Linked DNA regions of Homo sapiens: region 2 is linked to region 1. Evidence: promoter capture Hi-C in 16 types of primary human blood cells and fetal thymus (Javierre and others, 2016). All regions are on one chromosome and are shown on one strand. Each heading gives the region's core, a stretch centred on a gene start or on the middle of the fragment in contact. The rest is flanking DNA. Distances are from core to core; before and after follow the strand shown. Region 1 holds the start of EFCAB12 (EF-hand calcium binding domain 12). Region 2 holds the start of H1-8 (H1.8 linker histone).

The links. The method cuts DNA at HindIII sites, captures the fragments that hold promoters and counts their contacts. A CHiCAGO score of 5 or more calls a contact.
Region 2: a contact is called between the fragment with the promoter of H1-8 here and the fragment with the promoter of EFCAB12 in region 1, in 3 of 17 cell types (M1 macrophages, M0 macrophages and endothelial precursors). The highest score is 9.0, in M1 macrophages.

The regions. Positions count from the first base shown.
Region 1 is chr3:129,426,082-129,431,025 of GRCh38, forward strand. It overlaps EFCAB12 (EF-hand calcium binding domain 12), which reads right to left and starts at 2,555. Exons shown (of 9, transcript NM_207307.3): 1 at 2,359-2,555. The coding sequence starts at 2,407. MBD4 (methyl-CpG binding domain 4, DNA glycosylase) reads right to left here. Exons shown (of 8, transcript NM_001276270.2): 8 at 4,866-4,944. RefSeq lists a silencer at 2,692-2,741. The HindIII fragment of the contact is 3,479 bases long and covers 1,886-4,944 here.
Region 2 is chr3:129,540,969-129,545,912 of GRCh38, forward strand. It overlaps H1-8 (H1.8 linker histone), which reads left to right and starts at 2,207. Exons shown (of 5, transcript NM_153833.3): 1 at 2,207-2,338. The coding sequence starts at 2,251. RefSeq lists an enhancer at 1,746-2,247. The HindIII fragment of the contact is 913 bases long and covers 2,030-2,942 here.

The DNA.
Region 1 (4,944 bases), core at 1,305-3,804:
TGGCTTGATTCAATCTCTTGCTATGTCCAATTCTACCTCTCCGGCTATTGTTTTTGGGCCCCTCTTTTCCTGATTACTCCTTAAAGGTTGTTGCTTCCAGGCTTATACCCAGGGTCTCTTCTCTTTTTAAATAATCCCTTCCATTCTCATGTTTCTATGACCTTCTGTATGCTGGGGACATCCATACCAATATTTTTGACTTGGAATTAGCTCCAAGTTTATACCTCCAGTTGTTCCTAAAACATCTCCACTTGGATGGCTTACAGGGTTTTTTTTTGTTTTTTTTTTTTTTTTTTTTTTTGAGACGGACTCTTGCTCTGTTTCCCAGGCTAAAGTGCAGTGGCACGATCTCGGCTCTCTGCAAGCTCTGCCTCCCGGGTTCACGCCATTCTCCTGCCTCAGCCTCCCGAGTACCTGGGACTACAGGTGTCTGCCACCACGACCGGCTAATTTTTTGTATTTTTAGTAGAGATGGGGTTTCACTGTGTTAGCCAGGATGGTCTCGATCTCCTGACCTGGTGATCCGCCCACCTCAGCCTCCCAAAGTGCTAGGATTACAGGCGTGAGCCACGGCGCCCGGCCGGGGATCTTTTTTTATTATTTATTTTTAATTGAGACAGGGTCTTGCTCTGTTCCCCAAGCTGGAGTACAGTGGCTCAATCATAGCTCACTGCAGCCTTGAACTCCTGGGCTCAAATGATCCTCCCAGCTCAGCCTCCTGAGTAGCTGGGACTACAGGTGCATGCCATTAAGCCTAGCTAACCTTTTTTTTTTTTTTTTTTTTGAGATGGTGTCTTGCTCTGTCACCCAGGCTGGAGTGCAATGGCATGATCTTGGCTCACTGCAAGCTCCACCTCCCTGGTTCATGCCATTCTCCTGCCTCAGCCTCCTGAGTAGCTGTGACTACAGGCGCCTGCCACCATGCCCGGCTAATTTTTTGTATTTTTAGTAGAGACGGGGTTTCATTGTGTTAGCCAGGATGGTCTTGATCTCCTGACCTCGTGATCCACCCACCTCAGCCTCCTAAAGTGCTGGGATTACAGGCGTGAGCCACCCCACCAGGCCTGGCTAACTTTAAAAAACAATTTTGTAGAGATGGGATCTCACTATGTTGCCCAGGCTATTCTCAAACTCCTGGGCTCAAGCAATCCTCCTGCCTCAGCTTCCCATAGTGCTGGGATTACAGGCGTGAGATACTGTGCCCAGCTACTGACAAGGATCTTAAACTCAACCAACCAAGACTGGATTTGTCTTTGTGCCCCTTCCCCCACTAACTGGGTCCTCTGAGTACGTTCTCTTATCTCTGTGGAAGACATCTCCATCTACCAGGTCCCCCAGCTGCCAACTTGAGAACCATCTTTATTTGCCTCTTCTGTGTTTCCTGACCAACCAGCCCCCAAGTCCCGTAGTTCCCTCTAGCCTGGGCCTTCTCCCTCACCTCCCAGCATCTTTAGCTTGGGCATTTGACCAGAGCCCTGACCTGTGTGCCTGGGAAAGGTGGCCAGCCTCTCCAGCTCTCCCTGTTTCTCCACTGGGCATTAATGTGTTCAGTGCTGGAGAAGCGGCATGGAGAAGACCTTCAGTCTTCAAGCTTTATAGCCCCCAGCTCTCATCTCCCCACACCAACATTCTGAGTCTGCCAACTCAGTCTCAGGTCTTTTCTGACTGCTCCCAATCCAGTCCTGCCACTCCCAGTGGCCTCTCCATCTCCTGGCTTGCAGTATCTTTTATGATCTTGTCCCTTCTGACCTCTCTCACCTCATTTCCAGAGACACCAGACCTCTTGGGTCATGCTGTTTCCTTGCCCGAAATGCTTTTCCTTCCCCTTTTGGCTTGGAGAACTCCTTTTTATCCTTTAAGCTCCAGTGTAAAGATCTTTTCCAAAAGCTTGGAACTGTTCCTCCCCATCCCATACCCTCAGCACACCTTTTACTCCTGGGTGTCATCCCTGGGCCCGGCATTTACCCCTTCTTATTCTGTAATTATCCATTTATCTCTGTCCTTTACCCGTGAAGCTGCATTGCTTTGCCAAGAACTTGGTCCCCAGCACATTACTGCCAAAACCTTGAAGACTGACGTCTTCTCCATGCCTCTCCTCCAGTACTGAATACATTAATGTCCTGCAGAGAAACAGGGCGAGCTGGAGGGCTCCCGTCACATGGGTCGGGCCTCTGGTTCCTCCAACTAGGCTCAGATAGAAATCTCAGAAATGTACATGACCTGCCCCCGACTCCATGGCAACCCTTCACCCAGAGGGGGTCGGCACAATATCTGTGGCTGAGTTTTTGCCCTCACCCCACTTTCACGCGTCCTTAGGGCGCTGAGCGCTCCCTGCAGACGCTTCTTCCCGGGGCTTACCGAGCAGCGACAAGAACAGACTGTGGTACGCTTCATAGTCGTCGTCCATGGTCGTGGTGCTGGGAGGGGGTGCTGAAGGGCGTGTGTGAATGTGTGTCGATGTGGGCTTGCTTGCGTAGGGGTACCGGGGTATCAGATAAACCGTAACTCCAAGTCGTGCGAAAGGCGCTCAGCTCAGACTGCAGAAGCAACCTGTTGCCGTGGCTACGGACGCCCCGCGCCAATTGGCTGAGCGCTGTCACGTGTTAAGAGCGAGCCCGCCCTGCCGAGCGCCTGCTGGCCCCACCTCGTTTTCGTCCAATTCTGGGAGGGGCAGCGAGCAAATCCACGCCCCGCCCAGTTCTGGGCTTGGTGAAAGGCGGGATTTCTTTGTTCGGCCCAGTAGTCCCTGAATCCAGTGTAGAAAGTCTCCGGTTTTCCCGTGAAATGTGGGATCTTCCGCAGGTCTCCATATCTCTAGGCCTCAGTTTTCTCATAGGAAAAATAGGCCCTGCCTCCTCCAGAGGGTTAGGAAGAACCAAAGTGAGCTGTGGCCAGATAGAGGTGTTGGGTATGTTCTGCCCCGCTTATGGCAGGGTGCCATGGTTTGGAGTTACAGAACCTGAGGACCAGAGAATAATAATAAACCCTTGAAATGTGCATCAACTGATAAGCAAAATGAGGTATATCCATAGGATGGCCATAAGAAGGAATGAAGTACATGCTACAATATGGATAAACCTTCAAAACAGTATGCTAAGCAAGAAGCTAGACACAAAAGGCCACGTGCTGTATGATTCCATTTATGTGAAATGTTCAGCATAGACGAACCCACAGACACGGAAAGTAGATGAATGGTTGCTAGGGGATGGGGTGAGTAATTGAAGTGACTGCTAACAGGTGGAGAGATTCTTTTTGGAGTGGAAAAAAGAAATGGAAACTTCTGGAATTAGTGATGATGGCTGCACACTGTAAATGTACTAAACCACTGAACTGTACACTTTAAAATGGTTAAATGGTGGCTTTTAGCTCAATTTTTAAAAAGTTAAAGAGAAACACCTAAGCCCTTATTCCTTTGCTGAGACAAGCTATCTTTGTGACGCTTGCAAACAGATTGTTGCCATGGGCCACATTCACACAGCACTCTTGCAAGCCAGGTACCATTTTAGCACTACATGTCTGAACTTCATAATTACCATCATTGTGTGAGGTAGACACCACTATCCCATTTTTAAAAGACAAGTTAACAGGTACAGAGGTCAGGCAACCTCACCTGCAAGAAACAGGAAAAGCCAGGCCTAGAGCCTGAGCAACCTGGCTGTGTCCTGAGCTCCCCTGGTGCAGAGCTCGCCTCCTGCATTCACACGGGCCCACACTCCCCATGGAGATGCTGGGGGAAGGTATGTGACCACCAGCCCTACCACAAAGCCACACCTGATGCCCTGAGCTTGGTGAGCTCGCCCCACCCTCCAGGCCCAGCTGGGCCCAAGGTTTCAGAGGCCCCTCTCCACCCTCTTTGGGTGTCTTGTCCCTACTCCTTACCGCTTTTGTTCCCTTCCATTATTAGGTGCCCTTCTTTCTCTCTGTGAGGGTCTGTACAGAACTTGTTTATCTTTGTGCCCCTCCCCACCACAGGGCTTTACACTTTGTGAATGCTACTTGGATGTTTGTTAAATGAAAATGTGATGGTAAACTATAAAGTGGGTTTGCCTTGGGGAGAGGGAGGTGTGGCCAGTTTTCCTGTTCTCTGGTCAAAATCTATCCTTCTAAAAACTGACACTCACTAAAGTGGAAACAACCAACTACCTCTGCATCACACTGCAGCCTGATTCGGTTCACACTGCCCTACAACAAAGGCAGTTTCCTGAACAACTGATTTATTTTTCATTTATTCAATCAATTTAATTTTCAAATTATACCTTAAAATGGTAGTTGGTAATTAAGACATAGTAACTAGTTTTTTCCCTTGGTTTCTTTCTAATAGTAAATGCTTTGGTATTTGAACTGTAACAATACTTGTAATAAAAATGGCATTAAGACTTATTTTTTTTAAGACAGGGTCTTGCTGTGTCATCCAGGCTGAAGTGCAGTGGTGTGATCATAGCTCACTGCAGCCTCAATCTCCTGGGCTCAAGGGATTCTCCCACCTCAGCCTTCTGAGTAGCTGGGACCACAAGTGTATGTCACCATGCCCAATTAATTTTTAAAATTTTTTGTAGAGACGGGGTCTCATTATGTTGCCCAGTCTGGTTTTGAACTCCTGGGCTCAAGCAATCCTCCTGCCTCAGCCTCCCAAAGTGCTAGGATTACAGGTGTAAGCCACTGTGCCTGGCCAAATGGTATAAACTCCAAATGGAAGATGAGAAATGAGTTTTCACAAAGGGACCAAGGTAAAAGAGTGAGTGAGCTGAAATGGAGCAGCAGGCCCATATTCACATTAGGTTATCAAATGGATACTGGGGTGGAATCTACAATTCCTAAGAGCTAGTGTGGAGCTGTCAACAATACACAATGCCAGAGGAATCTTATTTGTCTTTGGGGTCAGCTTTTATTTTTATTTTTTAAATATATATTTTTTGAGACAGGGTCTCTCTCTGTCATCCAGAC
Region 2 (4,944 bases), core at 957-3,456, 110 kb after region 1:
CTTTAGAACACTTTGATGACCACAGCCTCCCCGAGTCCAGATCTCTGGTGATGGAGAGCCCTCTGGGAAAATTCCACAATAAAGAGACTACCTAGAGAAGAATGTATGCTGTTTAAAACCCATCCCTTCCTCAGAGGTAACCACTTCTACTATTACCTTGGTATGAATCCATTCAGAACTTTTTTCTACTGCTTGTGACTGGTAAGATAAAAAAACAAAAAAATTTTTTAAAAATTAAAAAGAACTATTGTGCCTTCACACACACACACACACACACACACACACACGCAAGTTTTGTCTTCTCAGTAGTTGGGGTGTACTCTCCGATACATTCTGGTTCACTCCTTTTCACTACTGCATACTACTCCACTGTGCGAATAGGCCACAGTTTACTTGTTCACTCTCCACCTGATGGGCATTTATGTTGTTTTGAATTTCTGCTAAGATTGAAATAAACATCTTTGCACGTAAGTGTATATGTTTGTCTCAGATCTACGCCTAGAGTGGAATAGGTGGGTTGTGGAGTGAGTCCCTCCTTAGTTGTATGAAACATCGCTGAATTGCTTTCTAAGGCGGCTACCAGCTCACTCCCCACCCCCCAGCAGCTATACTTTCCTTGAATCCTAGTCACTCACTATTGATAGACACTTACATCTTTGTCATTTTGCTGAGTGTGAAATACAGCCTCATTCTTGTTTGTTTTCTTTTCTTTCCCTCCCCCTTTTTTTTGGGGGGGGCAGGGTCTTACTCTGTAGCCCAGGCTGGAGTGCAGGGGTGTGATCACAGCTCCCTGCAGCCTTGACCTCCCAGGCTCAAGCAATCCTCCTGCCTCGGCCTCCCAGGTAGCTGGGACTACAGGTGCACACCACCATGCCCAGCTAATTTTTGTATTTTTTGGTAGAGACAGGATTTCACTTTTTTGCCTAGGCTGGTCTTGAACTCCTGGGCTCAAGCGATCCTCCTGCCTCAGCCTCCCGAAGTTCTGGGATTACAGGTATGAGCCACCATGCCTGGCCTCTCATCCTTGTTTTAATCCATCTTGTCATTTTATATTATATTATATTATTTTATTTTATTTTTATTTACTTATTTTTGAGACACAGTTTCGCTCTTGTTGCCCAGGCTGGAGTGCAATGGCTCGATCCTGGTTCACTGCAGTCTCCAGCTCCCAGGTTCAAGTGATTCTCCTGCCTCAGCCTCCCAAGTAGCTGGGACTACAGGTGCACACCACCACGCCCAGCTAATTTTGTATTTTTAGTAGAGATGAAGTTTTACCATGTTGGCCAGGCTGGTCTCAAACTCCTGACCTCAGGTGATCCGCCCACCTCAGCCTCCCAAAGTGCTAGGATTACAGGCCTGAGCCACCGCACCAGCCCACCTTGTCATTTTAGATGGCTGCAGAATATTCTGCAGAAAGGGTGTGATTTAGCCAGGCCTTGGGTGTTTGCTTGGAAAGTTTTTTTTTTTTGTCTGTCAATTTGATGGGAAAAAGTAGTATTTCACCATTGTTTCAATTTGAATTTTCTCAAATGCCAAGGAAGTTGAGTGTCCATTTTCCTGTTTCTGTTCCTCACCCTTTAGGCTGGTGAATTGCCTGTTTATATTCTTTGTCCATTGTCCCAGTGGATGTTGTCCTTATCTATGAAGACTTTTGTGAAGCATCCTCCGTTATTGATTTATTTCTTTAAAAACAAAACCAAAGGAGGGCATAGGCCCAGAGAGCCTGGCTGGCCTCAGAAGGGGCTACTCTGATTGAGGGGCATGTGCTCTGGGCAAAAGTAGCAGTTGGGCTGCCTCCAACTGCTACTTTTTGAGAAATTGAGGCCAGCAGTGGCGTGGGGCAGCCCATTGCCCACCTGGTAGGATTAGAGGGCCGCCTCAGCGGCCTCCCTGACAACACAGGTGACCCCAATTCCTCATCAGCATCTCCAGCCCCTGGTGGGCAGAGGGCACAGGCGAGATCAAGCATCTCAGCTCCCAACATTGCACCATGGGGACTGAGACCCAGAGAAGTCAAGCGACACCCCCAAGCTTACACAGGAGTGGGTAGTCCAGCTGGGGCTCCCTACAGAAGGCAGGATGCTGTGCCCCATTCCACACCTCCAGCCCCAGTCAGCAGCTTGGAGCACTCCCAGCCCAATCAGGGCTGATTGGAGTGGTGGGGGTGGGCTGCTGGTATATAAGCCTAGTGGGCAGGCCCAGCAGCCTCACACCCGGGTGAGGGGTCTGCTGGCTGCACCTGTCGGTCTCATGGCTCCTGGGAGCGTCACCAGCGACATCTCACCCTCCTCGACTTCCACAGCAGGATCATCCAGGTCTCCTGAATCTGAAAAGCCAGGTGAGCAAGAGGAGGCAGCTCCTCCCTCATCCCTGCGAGCCCACTCCCTGGGTTGCCTTTGATGCTCCACCCCTGCTTCTCGTTCTTTCCCAGCCTGGCCCCAGCACCTACCCAGCACCCACCCAGCACTCACCCAGCACTCACCCAGCACCCACCCAGCACCAAGCTGCTGAGCTCAACTGCCTTTTGGCTGAAGAGCTGATCTACAGGTAGCAAGGCCAGGTAGGGCCTGGGGGCTGGGGCCGGCCTCGCTCAGGGAAGAGCCACAGGGCCTTCCAGCTGGAGCCCGTTTCCTGCTGGGACCGTAGCCCGTAGCCAGGCTGCAGCTGTGGGCAGCTAGTTGGAGGGACTGGGGCAGGAGCATTTTATGCAGGGCTAGGCATTCCGATTTTCAACCAAAAAACACCTCAGGGTTTATCTGGACATGAGGGTGCACCGAGGCAAACCAGGCCCAGTTCACTCCCTCGAGGACCTCCCGGTCTGATGGGGAAGCCTGGCCCATGGCTTGTTGCTGTTTGCTAATGTGATGTGTGCTTCAGTGGCGGTAATCCAGAGCTGGAGGAGCCCAGAGGAGTCCTCTAACCCACTCTGGGAGGTCAGGGAAAGCTTCCTAGAAGAGGTGACCCTGAAGGATGGGTGTGCCTCAGCCGGGGGAAGTGTTCTATTTGCCAAGACACCTAGGGAGATAGGGAGGGGGTCCAGGTGCCGAGAAGTAAAAGGGCAGAGTTAACTGGGAAGTCAGAGGTGTCCAAACCAAGGTGCATTTTGAGCCTTGAAGGATGAGTGAGAGCAGCCTGCATGACCGGGAGGAGAGAGGCAGCCCAGGCAGAGGAAACGGCATGGGCTAAGGCCCAGAGGCCAGCGCACCAGCAGCTTGTCTCGGAAGCTGCATCTTCCTTCTGGGAAGGAGGGAAGTGCTGGGGCAGTGCTAGGGGAGCAGTGGGAGGGCCTCCAAGGCGGTCTTCAGTTAGGTCAACTTTTATCTTGAACAGGGAGCCATGGACGGTTTCAAGCAGGGAGGTGAGGGGTGTGAGATACAGCGAGGAGAATGCATGCGGTGGGGAAGAGGCAGTGGGGAGGAGGCTGGGGCTGGGGAGTTGGAGAGGAGAGGCCAGAATATGGAGAGAAAAGCCTATGGGGAGGCCTCGAGTGGGTGTGGTGAGGAGGAAAGGGCCCAGAATGCCCCCAGTTCTTGCTTGGATGTTGGGTAGGTATGGGCAGTGGGGGCATGGGGCATTCCTGGAAGAGAGAGGAGGGGCAGATTTGGGGGGCTGAGCTCTGTTCTGGACATCCTGGTATACAGCAGGCATGGAATAGCTGCCGAATGAGGGGCTGGGATGAGAGGGAACAGACCTGAGGGAGGACTCCTGGGGGTGGCTCTCTGGGACAGACATGGTCTGGGGGAAGCAGAGGAGGGGTTGGAGCTGCTCGTGAAGTCAGGCCAAGCGAAGACCCTTGGGAAGCCCTGTAGCACTGCAGCTGGGAGGGCTCAGACCTCCTTAGAGGCCCCCGTCCCCACTGTACGGATGGGAAGACTGAGGCCTAGAGGGAAGAATGAAACTCCCGAGAACCCGGGAGTGACCCAGGACTACACCAGCTCAACGCCTTTGGCCCCCAAATGAATATTCCCACACTGGGCTCGTCATGGCCAGGACCCAACAGGGGTCGAAGTGATTAGGTCTCTTTATAATTTTGCTCTAGATCTAGAGTTTCATGGTTTTTTTTTTCTATTGAAAAAAAATTTTAATATAGCCAATTTTTTTTTTTTTTTTGAGACAGGGTCTTGCTTTGTCACCCAGGCTGGAGTGCAGTGGTGTGATCTCAGCTCACTGCAGTCTCCACTTCCCAGGCTCAAGCAATCTTCCCACCTCAGCCTCCCAAGTAGCTAGGCCTATAGGCACACACCACCACACTCTGCTCATTTTTAAAGATTTTCGTAGAGTCGAGGTCTCACGATATTGCCCAGAATTTAAGTCTTTAAATTCTGCAGATTGATCAGAAATCAACATTTCCATTCACCACATTTAAATCCGGTTTCATATTTAAATCCCTTTTATGCATTTCATGGTGACTGACAACTTCTCATGCTTCCCCCACCCTTGATCCCACTTCATTTGCAACTATTTTATAACACCTTATTGAGAAATAATTCCCATACAATACAATTCACCCTTTAAAGTGTACAATGGCTTTTGGTATACTCAGAGTTGTGTATCCATCTCTATAATCAATTTTAGAATATTTTCATCACTTCAAGAAAACCAGTACCCATTAGCAGTCACTCTCCACCCCCACTCCCCAGCCCTGGCAACCACCAATCTGCTTTCTGCATCTATGGACTTCTTATTCTGGACATTTCATATAAATGGAATCAGACAGTATGTGGCTTTTTCTGACTGCCTTTTTTCACTTTGCATGTTTCAGGGCTCCTCCATGTCGTAGCCAGGGCTTCACTCCTTTGTATGGCTGGATAATATTCCACGGGATGGGTAGCGACCACATTTTGTTCATCCATCTGTCAATCATTCATCATGGATGTTTGGGCTGGTTCCATCTTTGGGCCGACATGAATAGTGCTGCTATGAACATTCATGTGTACATTTTTG